2 separate regions of the Homo sapiens genome follow, and region 2 is linked to region 1. Evidence: promoter capture Hi-C in human tissues and cell types (Jung and others, 2019). All regions are on one chromosome and are shown on one strand. The core of a region is centred on a gene start or on the middle of the fragment in contact, and the rest is flanking DNA. Distances in the headings are between cores, read along the strand shown. Region 1 holds the start of TFIP11 (tuftelin interacting protein 11). Region 2 overlaps HPS4 (HPS4 biogenesis of lysosomal organelles complex 3 subunit 2).

The links. Contacts are between HindIII fragments. The study calls those that stand out against the background at their distance.
Region 2: a fragment that was not itself captured here is called in contact with the fragment with the promoter of TFIP11 in region 1 in 2 of the 25 tissues and cell types used here (neural progenitor cells and pancreas).

The regions. Positions count from the first base shown.
Region 1 is chr22:26,508,319-26,515,801 of GRCh38, reverse strand. TFIP11 (tuftelin interacting protein 11) reads left to right here and starts at 3,329. Exons shown (of 15, transcript NM_012143.4): 1 at 3,329-3,408; 2 at 3,627-3,703; 3 at 5,100-5,185; 4 at 5,521-5,738. The coding sequence starts at 5,530. It overlaps TFIP11-DT (TFIP11 divergent transcript), which reads right to left and starts at 3,270. Exons shown (of 2, transcript NR_144529.1): 1 at 2,768-3,270; 2 at 1,234-2,390. RefSeq lists enhancers at 2,507-3,044, 3,267-3,446. The HindIII fragment of the contact is 22,947 bases long and covers 1-7,483 here.
Region 2 is chr22:26,450,127-26,457,609 of GRCh38, reverse strand. HPS4 (HPS4 biogenesis of lysosomal organelles complex 3 subunit 2) reads left to right here. Exons shown (of 14, transcript NM_022081.6): 14 at 4,206-6,728. The coding sequence ends at 4,377. Among named protein-coding and RNA genes, the nearest start is that of ASPHD2, 25 kb to the right of the region's middle. The HindIII fragment of the contact is 5,351 bases long and covers 505-5,855 here.

The DNA of each region.
Region 1 (7,483 bases), core at 2,080-4,579:
ATGCATGGTTTTGCAAAGAAAGCACCTGCCTGGGAGTTTGAGCTCCTGGGTTTCAGGCCTGGCCCTGTCCTTAAACTCACTGTGTGGTGCTGGCACCTCCACTCTGCCAGGGGCTCCCCCACCGCCTCAGCTGCGAAAAGAGAGGTATAGACCCATGAGTGCTGGAGGGCCCTGCCAGACTCCTTCTGCCCAAGGAGCCTTGTTGCTTTGGCAACCCCTTCTGCGAAGGCCACATGTCTGAGCACCTCATTGGGAATGTAGAAATGAGTGTGGATGTTCCCAAATCTCAAAGCAATGTTTTTGTTTTTTTTTTTCCCCTCTAGGAAATGACAGGAGATCACGATAGATATGAGACCTTGAACCTAAAGCTCTGGTTGCCTTGTAAAACTTTTCCTTGTTTTTCAAAGGCTGGGCATTTGATCCCAGAAATCCTGAAAAACCATGGATTTTTGAGACTGAAAGGGGTATGACATTGGGTTTTTAAAAATGAAGGCTGGCGCAGTGGCTCACGCCTGTAATCCCAGCACTTTGGGAGGCCAAGGCAGGTGGATCACGAGGTCAGGAGTTCGAAACCAGCTTGGCCAACATGTTGAAACCCCATCTCTAATAAAAATACAAAAAGTAGCCAGGCGTGGTGGCGCACACCTGTAATCCCAGCTACTCAGGAGGCTGAGACAGGAGAATTGCTTGAACCCAGGAAGCATATGTTGCAGTGAGCTGAGATCGTGCCACTGCACTCCAGCCTGGGTGACACAGTGAGACTCTGTCTGGGGGAAAAAAAAATTAAAACAAATAAAAAAACAAAAATTAGCTGGGCGTGGCGGCGTAACGCCAGCTACTCGAGAGGCTGAGGCATGAGAATCACTACAGCTGCGCCTGTAATGACAGCTACTCGGGAGGCTGAGGCATGAGAATCACTTGAATCTGGGAGGTAGAGGTTGCAAATGAGCGAAGATTGTGCTGCTGCACTCTAGCCTGGGCGACAGAGTGAGACTCTGTCTCAATAAATAAATAAATAAATAAATAAGAATATAGCCACAATCCTTTAGAAAGCTCTTACCATGCCAGGAGCTTTACATGCACTAATTATCACTTTCTGTTTTTGTTTTTCTCTAAACAACTCTCTTAGATCAGTACTGTCACTATCCCCAATCTACAGATGGAAAAATTGAGGTGTAGAGAGGTGAAGCAACCTGCCCTCGGGCCCATACCTAAGAAGTAGCAAAGTCGAGATTTGGATCCTTGAAGTTTTTACTCCAGAGCTTTCATTTTAAGAAATTGCAAAAAAGTTATTAAGTACAGAGAGAAACATTTTCCCTGTAATAATTTGAAATTAAGGTGACCATTTGATGCCTTATCCCCTGCCAAATACATTGATTTACTTTCCAGCAAACAAGAACATCCTCTGATGTAACTTAACAGGCAACCATGAAAATCAGGAAATTAACACGGACACATCATTACCACGGCATTGTAGGCCCCATTTAAACTTTTCCAACTGTCCCTGTAACTTCCTTTCAAGCAAAAAGATCCAGTTCAGAATCATGTGTTGTGTTTAGTTGTCATGCCTCTTTGGTCCCCTCCAGTTTGGAACAGTTCCAGGGTCTATCTTTGATTTTCATGACCTTGGCACTTTCTAAGATTACAGTTTTGTATACAGCATGTCTCTTTACGTGGGTTTGTCTGATATATCCTCATGATTACATCCAGGTTATGGATCTTCAGCAGGAATATCACAGGGGTGATGTTGCAATCTTCTCAGGGCATCCTATCAAGTGCCACATAACTTCACTTTGTCCCATTCCTGACAATGCAGACTCTGATCACTAAATCAGAGCCTGCACTCTTAACTACTCCATGACAGTCCACAAAGGTCCCTTCTTCAGAAGCCACAAAGTGAGTTCCATTTGGTGAAGTAAATCCACTAGCATCAGTCCCTCATGATCAAAGTAATTGCAGCTCCATAAAATCTGCTGTAAAGCCATAAACATAGCTACAGAAAAGCCAAGCGTATGTATGCTTTTGGCTTTTGGGCTACAAACAGATGTAAATACATTCAGGCACAGACTAAAAACACTTTTCTCCTCTGTTTCCCTTACTCTGCTCCTGGCAGGGCTTGTAGTCTGTTAGACCCTCTCTCCCGGCCTTCAATGCTAAAACCACATTTTCCATTTCTTTCCTGAGTACATACTATGTGTCAGGCACAATGATTCTACATGTCACTAAGAATACAGAGATCATTAAGACACAGTCATCATTCCTAAGCAGCCCACATTTAACTGGGTACACAAAAATTGTTGTTTAATTCTTAACAACTACTTGATGGTAGACTTAAGTATTTGACTCCAAGTCCCGTGCTCTTTTTACATTCCAACAATTGCCTCTTGAATCTTTTCATCACATAGAGCAGAGAGAGAAAAATTAAGCAAAAATTAATAGCTAACACTTCTTCAGCACCTACTGTTACCAGGTACGGTTTTCATTGCCTACAGTTTTATCTTATTGAATCCTTAACCATTTTGCAGAAGAGAAAACAGGCTTAGATGTAATGACTTGCCCAAGGTCCACAGCTGCTAAATTGCACTCAAGGTTGGAACTCCAGAGCCTGTGGACACTTAAATGTCTACAAGGAGTCCTTGGGCTAGTGAGGGCTTCCCAGGGAGGGCCCATGACTGTTCTGCTCATTGTATCACATTGGCCTAGCACAGGTGAGGGGCACTTAGTATATTTTAATTAGATCAATGAATAAATTAATGAATTTACCAACCTGCTGGAAACGAAAAGAATGGAAACAGCTCCTGGAGAGAATACTTGGGAACTCCAGAGTTTGCCCATTCATTCCTTCATTCCCTCTTAAACTCCTGCATAAAGGCCACTGCCCTGTGCCCACGACGGTGCTTATACCGAGAGCGTCAAAGATACAGGAATCACAGTCTTGACCTTCATTATTCCCATTTGAATGCTGTGTCCCAGGCCCCTTATTGTCTCACAGTATTTACCACAACTACCGTATGGGCTAATCCTACATCTCTATTTTACAGATTTACAATCTCAGAGTGGTAAAGTCTCCTTAGGCCAAGGTGGCTCAGCGGATTCCACACCAGTCATCACAGGCTGAGCGTCACAGTACAAAGCAGGAGCGGCAGGGAGGCCGATTCCGCGGGGAAACCACTCCCCAGCTATTCTAGGCCTTGCAAATCCACCCCTCCTATCTAAGATCCCAGCCGGCCGCTCTGCAGCCATATCCGCCGTAGCGTCCCACGCTGCCCTGGCAGCCAGCAGGACATCCGCTGTCGACTAACGTCATTTCCGGCGCGCCGGCCACGGTGCTTCCGGGTTCTGGTGTAGGAGCGGCGTCTTCTCGCGCGGATGGTGAAGCTGAATTTGGTACGCTGGACCCTCGGACAGGTGAGCACGGCTGGCCACAAGGGGACTCAGCGCCAGTGAGAGTAGGGACGAAGGCTCAGGGAAGGCGAGCTTCGGTCCAAGCCGTTGGGGTGTGGGGAGGGGAATCCATTTCGTAGACAGCTCTGCCGAGGCACGGAGAGGGGCGGTGCTGCTTGGGGTCAACTGGGATTTAGGGCTTGGATTCATTTAAGAACCTGAGCTTCCTTCACCAAACCTAGACAGCAAGAGAGAGACAAGCCCGAGGCCTGACTTCTAGCACTCCTGAGTTTGAGCCCTATGAGCAGTGGAACCTAGGGTAAGTTACTAACTTCTCTGAACCTCCTTTTTCTTATCTGAAGCATGAAAACTAACGGTACCTACCTTGCAGAAGTGTCTTGATGCAGACAGTTGATAATCGGTCTCAAGCGACCAGCATGTACCTAGCATCTACTGATAAAGGCTTCATAACTTGTGACTACTCGGGGCTTATTACCATTTACTATGCCCACGCAGGCAGTGGTATTATTTAACTTTATGTATTTGAGATTCCCCGTCTTTTCTGAAAATCCTTCTGTCCTAAACACTCCTGGAAGAGGTTGGGACCCGTTGCACCCAACCGGTGCACCAGTGAGTAGAAGAAGGCAGAGATAACGTTTTGCCAGAGGTGACCAGAGTTTGACACTGCCTGTGGAAGTAGTGAACTCCGTGTGCCTTAAGGCCGCTTTCAGCAAGACAAGAATCACAATTGCTGTCACCTATGGAGTGTATTATTGTGTAGTGCACCATGCTTGGCGCTTCACGTGCATATTTAATTCTCATACACTGGGTATCTGATAGAGTTGAATTTGAACTCAGGCTTCGATTTTAGCCTGCCTGATTTTACAGTCACTTTGCTAAGTTTACTCCCTAGTCCCATAATAATAATGATGATTGTGATGGTAAATACTGAGTGTCAACTTGATTGGATTGAAGGATACGAAGTATTGATCCTGGGTGTGACTATGTGGGTGTTGCCAAAGGAGATTAACATTTGAGTCTGTGGGTGGGGAAAGGCAGACCCACCCTCAATTCAATCTGTGTGGGCATAATCTAATCAGCTGCCAGCACGGCAAGAATATAAGCAGGCAGAAAAATGTGAAAAGAGAGACTGGCCTAGCCTCCCAGCCTATATCTTTCTCCTGTGCTGGATGCTTCCTGCCCTCGAACATTGGACTTCAAGTTCTTCAGCTTTGGAACTTGACTGGCTCTCCTTGCTCCTCAGCCTGCAGACAGCCTATTGTGGGACCTTTTGATCGTGTGAGTTAATAGTTAATAAGCTCCCCTTTATATATGTATGTCTATTCCATTAGTTATGTCGCTCTAGAGAACCCTGACTAATACAATGATTAACCTAATCATGGGACTAAAGTAGAAGCTATCGTTTCTTGAGCACTTATTTTGAACTCATTGAATTTGCTTTGTAAGCCTTCTCTAAGGTTGGTATGGTAGTTAATCCCAATTTAAGAAAGACAACTGAATCTGGTCACCCAGCTACTGTGAGGTAGATTCTCTATATCAATCTCTGGACATCTGACTATTAAAATAGTGTTCATAATTACTACAGTCTTTCAGTTCATCAGAAGAAATTCATGTTTTGTGAGGAAAACTGAAAATTTTGTTTCATCAAGTAATGTATTTCAAAAAGCATATTCTAAAAAAAATCACTCTCCTAGGACCACCAAGGATCCAGATATAATTCTTTCCTCAGTAATAGAAAAAAGAATCTGGGATCTAAGAAGATACCTACTCATTTTCTAAGGTAATAATGTACAAAATAACCTACTTAGTTATTTTTGTGTGGTTTGTGTATGTGTGAATATGTGTGATATTTATGATATTGACTAGGACAAGGAGATATGTACTTTTAAAGAATCATAGACTGTTAGGAGTAGTATTTTGTTCACCTGTTTTAGTACTGATTGTTATCTAAAAGTAGGTTTTTAATATCTTTTTTATTGAATAGTAATGCTGACTTTAATGGACTTTGAATTTGGAGAAAGTTCTGAAAGCAGCAAGGAATAGAGACTCACAAGGAATCCTTCGACTGCTGCCCCCAGGACTTACGGCCTGTGCTCTTTTTGTCTCTTCCTTTAGTGACTGGCCATGTCATTGTCCCACTTATACCGGGATGGGGAAGGCCGCATTGATGATGATGATGACGAGCGGGAGAACTTTGAGATCACTGACTGGGATCTCCAGAATGAGTTCAACCCCAACCGACAGCGCCACTGGCAGACCAAGGAAGAAGCCACCTACGGGGTGTGGGCAGAGCGAGACTCGGATGATGAGAGGCCCAGCTTTGGAGGCAAACGGTATTGCCTGGCATGGGGGCTGCTTCACCTTGCTTTAGGGAAGAGGGGGAAGATGGACAGGGAGTGGAGGAGATACCCTGATAAGTATACTTCTCACCTGGCCTTGTTGAGACTGTTAGCTGTGACATCATCTCGAGAGGTCTGGTTTCCTCTTTAGGCTAGAGTGCTGCTCTTTCACTGATTTATTCTATTTATTATTATTTTTTTTGAGACACGGTTTCACTTTGTTGCCCAGGTTGGAGTGCAGTGACGTGCTCTTGGCTAGCTGCAACCTCCACCTTCCAGGTTTAAGTGATTCCCGTGCCTCAGCCTCCCGAGTAGGTGGGATTACAAGCAAACGCCACCACCTCCAGCTAATGTTTGTATTATTAGTAGAGACGGGGTTTTGCCATGTTGGCCAGGCTGGTCTTGAACTCCTGACCTCAAGTGATCCACCCACCTCAGCCTCCCAAAGTGCTGGGATTACAGGCGTGAGCCACCACGCCTGGCCTCACTGATTTAATTATCAGTGTTTATTGAGCGATTGCTATGTATTAGGCCTGTGCTATAGACCCATTCTTGCCTTCCTAGAGCCCAGACATTAGAAGATGGAAATAGGCATTAACAACTCAGACGATCAAACTTGTGACTGTGATGCAGGACATGAGGGACATGAGGACATGAGGGAGAACACATTTTAGGGCATTTCATCTATTCTGAGAGGTCAAGGAAGATTTCTGTGGAGAAAAGTGACCCTTAAGCTGATATGACTGACAGTAGAAGGTAACTAGGGTGGTAGAAGAGGTCCCAATATGCAAAGGCCCTTGATGGGAAGCATCACGGTATCCACAAGGATATGAAAGGCTTGGGGGCTGGAGCAGAGAGGGGGAAGGGTAGCATAGTGTGTGTGATAGAGAGGGTGTGATGTGGGGCTGGGTTATGTTTTGAGAAGACCCTTTTGCTGGTGTGCTCAATAGGCATGGAGCCACAGTGGAAGACTGTGAGGAGGCCAAGCCAGTGGTCCCTGCACAGGTAGTGGAGGACTGGTCTAGGATAGTGGTGGGCAATGAGGATTCAGGCTGCACGTCTTCTCCCCAGCACAAGGTTATGTGTGCCCTGGCTGAACCTCACTCAACCAGGGTGTGCCAGGTTGGGGGTTTTTTCCTCCATGGCCTCACCTGTGGCCTCTAGGCTCTATCCTATTGAGAGTGTGCCTTTTTCTTTTTCTTTTTTTTTTTTTTGAGATGAAGTCTTGCTCTGTCGCCAGGCTGGAGTACAGTGGTGCAATCTTGGCTCACTGCAACCTCTGCCTCCTGGATTCAAGTGATTCTCCTGCCTCAGCCTCCCGAGTAGCTGGGACTACAGGCATGTGCCATCACACCCAGCTAATTTTTGTATTTTTAGTAGAGACGGGGTTTCACCATGTTGGCCAGGATCTCTTGACCTTGTCATCCGCCTGCCTCGGCCTCCGAAAGTGCTGGGATTACAGGCGTGAGCCACCACACCCAGCTGAGAATGTGCCTTTTTCAAAGGAGGCTGGGGGAGAAAGAGTATAGAGATTAGTCCAAACTTCTCATCCACAAGGAAGTCTGAAAGTGGATGACAAATAGATCAGGGAACAAGAATTGCATAATCATAAGATAATAATAATAGCTAACATCTCTTGGCTGCTTACTTGTCCTGGCTATTTCATAAACCTGGATTAATTTTCCTTATGAGAAAGGTACCATTATTGTCCCCATTTTACAGATTAAGAGACTGAGGCT
Region 2 (7,483 bases), core at 1,931-4,430, 58 kb after region 1:
ACCATCATGGAGCTACATCCATTACTAGGGACGGTGGCTCCGTCTCCTTGCTAGAAACAGTGTTGAAATATTGTTGTCTTTCTAATTACAAAGTAATATGGCTGGGCACAGTGGCTCACACCTGTAATCTCAGCACTTTGCGAGGCAGGGGGATCACTTGAGGTCAGGGTTCAAGACCAGCCTGGCCAACCTGGTGAAACCCTGTCTCTACTAAAAATACAAAAAATTAGCTGGGCAGGGTGGTGGGTGCCTGTAGTCCCAGCTACTCAGGAGGCTGAGGCAGGAGAATCACTTGAACCCGGGTGGCAGAGGTTATAGTGAGCTGAGATCACACCATTGCACTCCAGCCTGGGCAACAGAGTGAGACTGCGTCTCAGAAAAAAAAAAAAAAAAAAAAAAGTAATACGTGCTGATCATACAGTCATGCAGAATGCTTGGAAATGTATCAAGTAAAACATTTTCCTCTCTCATCTCCATCACACACCAGGAAATAACCACATTTTACAGTTTGGTATATATTGCTCCAGGTTTTATTGGTTTTTGGTTTTTATTTTTTGCACATATAAATTGTATTTTTAATTATTTTAAGTCTTCTAGAAAATAGGATTCTACTAATGTACAATTTTACAGTTGTCTTTTTTCACATTATGTCATAGCTTGAACACCTCCATGCCAGAAGAAATATTATGATTATTGTAATTTACAGTATTTAACCAACCGAATTTGTTTTTTTCTTTCTATATGCTTCTCTTATGAAACCAGAAAGGGAGTTTGGGCTTTAAAGATCACTTTATAAAAGCCCGAGGAGACTGGGACCTGAGAATTTGGTTGACAACTGGTAACAGAAAATAAAGCAAGTTAGCAGGTCAAGGGCAGTGCTGGCAATGTGTATATTAGTCCACGTAGTCCTTGGAACCATCTGGTCAAGGGCATTATTTTTTATTTATTTATTTTGAGATGGAGTCTCACTCTCGCCAGGCTGGAGTGCAGGGGCTCAGTCTCGGCTCATTGCAACCTCTGTCTCCTGGTTTCAAGCAATTCTTCTGCCTCAGCCTCCTGAGTAGCTGGGACTACAGGCACCTGCCACCATGCCCAGCTAATTTTTGTATTTTTAGTAGAGATAGGGTTTCACCATGTTGGCCAGGATAGTCTCAATGTTTTGACCTAGTGATCTGCCCACCTTGGCCTTCCAAAGTGCTGGGATTACAGGCGTGAGCCACCACGCCCGGCTTCAAGGGCATTTTTTAAATCCTCATTTTACAGATGAGAAAATTGAAGCACAAATAGGATAAGCAGCTTGCCCAGGGTTATATTCTTCTTAAGTGGCAGGGCCAGGATTTGAAGCATTTTCTCCAACTGTTAAGCACATGTATGACCTTTCCACACACATTTCAGTGTCGGGGCAGTGTGGTCCAGTGTGAGGGGCATGGGTGGTGGACTGACAGGGAGCCTGGGTGGGTGATTAGGATGGTTCTGATTCCCTGTCACCCGCCACACTTGAGCGCCAGGTGTTCTGCTGCCTCTCAGCGTCTCCAGCCAATATTCCAATAGATCTTTCTGTCAGAAATGTGTCTTCTCTGGCTTTAATTCACAGCTGCCCCAGGCTGGCAACCCAGAGGCAACTTGCATCTACAGTCACTGGTTTGGGAACTGGCTGTGTTGGGGGTGTGTGTGTCTGTTTTGTGGGAGGTGGAAACAAGTAAAATGTCAGCATCTGCTCCACCAACCACCTTGTGGCCCTGCAGTATGTCACCTTCCTTAGAGCTGAGAGGGGTTTAGTGTTGAGACACATAGCTCAAGGCATTTGTTGAGAGATTATTTCAATAACAGTAATAGAAACAACAGCTACCATTTCTTTTTTTTTTTAATTTTATTATTATTATAAGTTTTAGGGTACATGTGCTGTGCACAACGTGAGGTGTGTTACATATGTATACATTTGCCATGTTGGTGTGCTGCACCCATTAACTCGTCATTTAGCATTAGGTATATCTCCTAATGCTATCCCTCCCCCCTCCCCCCACCCTACAACAGGCCCCAGTGTGTGATGTTCCCCTTCCTGTGTCCATGTATTCTCATTGTTCAATTCCCACCTATGAGTGAGAACATGTGGTGTTTGGTTTTTTGTCCTTGCAATAGTTTGCTGAGAATGATGGTTTCCAGTTTCATCCATGTCCCTACAAAGGACATGAACTCATCATTTTTTATGGCTGCATAGTATTCCATGGTGTATATGTGCCACATTTTCTTAATCCAGTCTATCGTTGTTGGACATTTAGGTTGGTTCCAAATCTTTGCTATTGTGAATAGTGCCGCTATAAACATACGTGTGCATGTGTCTTTATAGCAGCATGATTTATAATCCTTTGGGTATATACCCAGTAATGGGTTGGCTGGGTCAAATGGTATTTCTAGTTCTAGATCCCTGAGGAATCGCCACACTGACTTCCACAATGGTTGAACTAGTTTACAGTCCCACCAACAGTGTAAAAGTGTTCCTATTTCTCCACATCCTCTCCAGCACCTGTTGTTTCCTGACTTTTTAATGATCGCCATTCTAACTGATGTGAGATGGTATCTCATTGTGGTTTTGATTTGCATTGCTCTGATGGCCAGTGATGATGAGCATTTTTTCATGTGTTTTTTGGCTGCATAAATGTCTTCTTTTGAGAAGTGTCTGTTCATATCCTTCGCCCACTTTTTGATGGGGTTGTTTGTTTTTTTCTTGTAAATTTGTTTGAGTTCATTGTAGATTCTGGATATTAGCCCTTTGTCAGATGAGTAGGTTGCGAAAATTTTCTCCCGTTCTGTAGGTTGCCTGTTCACTCTGATGGTAGTTTCTTTTGCTGTGCAGAAGCTCTTTAGTTTAATTAGATCCCATTTGTCAATTTTGGCTTTTGTTGCCATTGCTTTTGGTGTTTTAGATGTGAAGTCCTTGGCCATGCCTATGTCCTGAATGGTATTGCCTAGGTTTTCTTCTAGGGTTTTTATGGTTTTAGGTCTAACATGTAAGTCTTTAATCCATCTTGAATTAATTTTTGTGTAAGGTGTAAGGAAGGGATCCAGTTTCAGCTTTCTACATATGAACAGCTACCATTTCTTAACCACTCACAATGTGTTAAGCACTCACTTAATCTCATTCTTTAAAACAAAACAAAACAAAAACACCAATGAGGACACATACTGTTGCAACAAACACTGTACAGATGAAAAAGCTGGGACTCAGAAATGTTGAATAGCAGCCCAGGACACACACTAGGAAGTAATAGGGCTGGGATTAGCACCTGAGTGTGTGTGACTCCAGATCCATGCTCATAACCATCTGGCCTCGGAGCCCTCCCACAGGGCTGTGAGAAGAGATTGTCTTGCTGGGCCAGTGGGTGCAGGAGACACTGAAGCTTGGAATAGGGTGGGATTTTTCTCCCTTACAGGGAAGGAGAGAATTGAGTGAGGGGAGCCTTAGCAGTCCCTGACTCCACCCTTTCTCACTAGATTTGGGGGAAACTGAGGCCCATAATAGTTGGAGAGGCAGGATCCAGAAACCAGGGGGGTTTGTTTACCTTGGCCTGGAGTTGGCTCCTCCCAGGTGGCTCCGCCTCTGTGTAGTGCCCTCATCCCTCCCTCTCTGTGTCCACAGGCTTCCTGTCACTTCGTGTCACATCCCACTCCTGTCCTTCACTCCCTCTCAGTCTATCCAGCCACCCCCAGTGTGGAGAGCAGACTAGACTCCTTTCTCGGACACTGCCATTGCCTCGTCATAGAGGCAGGGCAGCCCCAGCTACTCACTCTGAGCCTCAGGGTCCTTGTCTGTGAAATGGGACCATACCACCACTGCAGAGCTTATGTGAGGGGCAAAGCAGAGACTGTATGCAGAGCACATTGCATAGCTGCCAGTATGTCAAAAAAGCCAGCACTCCACAGTTCCTTTATGCAATACTTATAACTCCAGGATCTGTGGCTGCTGCCACTGTGGATGGTCCCGCCACGGACTCTTCCAGCATCTAGTGAGCTGAAAGGAAGGAAAGATGGTATTGGCACTGAAGCCTGAAACTCAGCTGAAGAAATAGAATTCCGTGCCATGACAGCTGCACATGCCACATTGGGTGTCCTGGGTCCTCTGTGACAAGAACCTTACTGAGGTCTCTGTGTGGTCTGAGATTAGCACCAGCAGCATTGGACCGTTGCCTTCTTTCTTCCTCCAACAGAAATGCCTCCACGGCTGTGTACGCCTGTTGCAACCCCATCCAGGAGACATATTTCCAGCAGCTGGCACCTGCAGCACGGAGCTCCGGCTTCCCAAACCCTCAGGATGGCGCCTTCAGCCTCTCCGGCAAAGCAAAGCAGAAGCTGCTGAAGCACGGGGTGAACTTGCTCTGAACTGCACCCAGGAGGTGACTGGGAAGGAGAAAACCAGCAAAGGAAGCTCTGCCTTTTATAATTGAAAAGGCCCCTCTATTTTATTTTTCTTGAAAACATTCCCTTTTTTAGGAACCAAATGATATTTGAGTTTTTGTTATTCCTTTTGCAGATTGGGATGTGTTTTGGGGGCAGGGGTTAGTTCTTCAGGTCGGCAGACCCAGAGCACTTGATAAAGAACTGTATTTAATCGGTAGTGTTGGGGCCGGGACGGGCTTGGCTCCCTCTCTGCCATACTGAGCCTGAGGTATTTCATATCTCCTGCTGTTCCATCCCAGCTTGAATTGGTGCCACAAGCTTCCAAGTTGGCATTTTTTCTAGAACCTGATCGTCCACTAGCCCAGAGTGTGTGTGTTCAACCCCCACACCAGGTGGTGGTAGGCGGTGTGACTGCACAGCGAGGTGCCGGATCTGTGAGCAGGCCGACTCCACTCCCACGCCGCAGGTAGGTTTCTCCAGTGCGCTCTTGCTGGGAGGTCCGGATCGTTCCTGCAGGGAAGCGGCAGCACACGGAGACCACTTGGTTGAATTCTGTTGGAACTCTACTCAAATCTAGGGGCGTCTTCTTTGGACCCACAATGGGGGCAAGCCTTAATAATATGGAAGGGAGTTTGGGCTTTAGAGATCCCTTTATAAAAGCTCTGGGGGCTGAGCCCTGAGAATTCAGTGACAACAGGACCAACCTGCGCTGCCTTTGACTACAAGTGGGCCGTGCAGCTGGTTCCTCTCGAGCGAGTGTCCCTAAATAGGAGTTTACAAGATGTCTGGGGGTAAAAGCACTGTGCTTTTCAGTGGTGGCTGCGTGAAAGGGAGCGACACTCAGCTGTGTGTTCCTGGGCTTGTGTGGTACTTAGAACCTCAGTTCTATTACGTTATAGTCAGACATTTTTTTGACAGTATGAGACAGACTGCAGGATGAAAATATTTGTCAAAATCTTAACTGAATGTTTACTGGAAGTACTTGAGATTCCATTTGAGAGTTGTATTGTTAATAATTTCATGTCAGTGAACTGATATCTGATGTTTATGATATGGTGTCTTTTTCTTGAAACAAGCTTCCAAGGGCTAGAAATAAAATAGCCAAAAAATGCTGGAGTTCTGAGTAATTAAATGGCAGCATTTTTTTGTGACAAAGGTAAGGGTTAAGACAGTGTGTGTGTGTGTGTGTGTGTGTGTGTGTGTGTGTGTGCGCGCGCGCGCGCGCGCGTAACGTGGGCGCATCCCTCTTTTCCTTCCCTGGGTTCAGTGTGGCTGGGTAAGGACCGTCTGTTTGTAGGGCTGCCAGGCTGCAGCCTGCTGCTCCAGGGAGCACCAGCTGCAGCTGATCCAATACACCAAGCCTGTGTCTCCCTCTTCTATCACCTCTCTCCAGGATCTCTGCTGTCTCTTGGATCCCATCTGCCTAGATGGAAGAGGATCCTATCCGAAGCTAGGATAAATGTTGTCTTACTCCTCTGCTATGTTCTCCCAGAAAAAATTGATTACAAGTTCTCTGCTGTGGTTGCTGCAGCTCCAGGAAGTCCCCGCAATGTCTCACGTTGTCTTTGACCAGTGGTCCCCAGTACCAGGCCAGCGAAGACAACTTTATAATGTCATTTGTGTTGTGAAAATTCTTCCACTGACCCAAAATGGAACCGTACAAAGCCTATCCGTGTATATGGAAAAGTCTCATGCACCTGGATTAACTCAGAAAAAGTAAAGTCCTGAAACTTCACTTTGCAGGTGTGCCCCTTTCTTTCCTCCTTTGATCCTGCTTAGTTTCTGCAGTGGAGGTTCTGCTCAGAGCCCCAGGGCACTGGCAGCTGCAGCCGTCATCTCTAAAGCTTGGTAACTGTGGCCCAGAGGCTGCAGAGAAGAAACACTTAACCCGCTGTTTTCCCGTTTTTTAATATTTCAGAGGTTTCAGGGGGTCACTCAGGACACGGTTAATCCCACAGCCCCAGGCCCATCCCCTCAAAATTAGCGCCCCCAGAGTACGGGCCAAGCGACGGACAGCCAAGCAGCATGTTCTTGCTGGAATGGGCACCACAACCTCTTATGGCCATGTTTCCCAAGGGAAGGCAGTGTGCAGGACAGCCTGCCCACCCTGGACTCCTAGTTGACACCGAGTGCCACTGTCAGTGATCCAGGACCACAGATTCTAGTGACTCTTCAGGGCAGAAAAGCCTCTGTTTTGGCTTCCTCTGTGCCAGCCATCTGCCACCTGTGAACTGTAAGGATAAAGGTCGCATGAGTGATTAATAGTGGTGTGTTAGTCCGTTCTCACGGTTCTAATAAAGACATACCCGAGACTGGGTACTTTATAAAGGAAAGAGGTTTAACTGACTCACAGTTCTGCAGGGCTGGAGAGACCTTGGGAAACTTATGATCATGGCAGAAGGGGAACCAAACACATCCTTCTTCACATGGTGGCAGCAAAGAGAAGTGCAGAGTGAAAGGGGGGAAAAGCCCCTTATACAACCATCAGATCTCACGAGAACTGTCACAAGAACAGCATGGAAGTAACCACACCCATAATTCAATTACCTCCCACCAGGTCCCTCCCACGACATGTGGGGACTATGAGAACTACAAAATGAGATTTGGGTGGGAACACAGCCAAACCATATCAAGTGGCAATCAGATTCCTACTGGGAAAGGACCCCTAGAGGGGATGTTTGAGCCTGATCAAACTGTCTCCTCCCCTGGAGGGAAGCATCTAGACTTCTGGGCCGTTGTCACTTCAACCGACAGAGGGTGGTAGCAAGTGGAGCCCAGGGGCTTTGTTGAAGTCGCCCTCCATGGTGTCTGTCTTGCATATTTGGTGGTCTTTTCCAATGTGGCTAAGATGTACTTCCCATGCCGCCCAGTTACTGCGTTCTTAACACCCCGCCCTGCTCGGGGTGGGTGAGTAGCAGCAGACCTTTCTCTGGTGTGAGCCTCCCTGCCACAGGCCACTTCCCTGTGTGTGCAGTGAGCTGAATGGTGGCCCCCAAAGATCAGGTCCCAATCCCCAGAACCTGTGAATGTTGCCTTGTTGGATCGGATGTTTGCAGATGTGGTTGAGTGAAGGATCTTGAGACGAAGA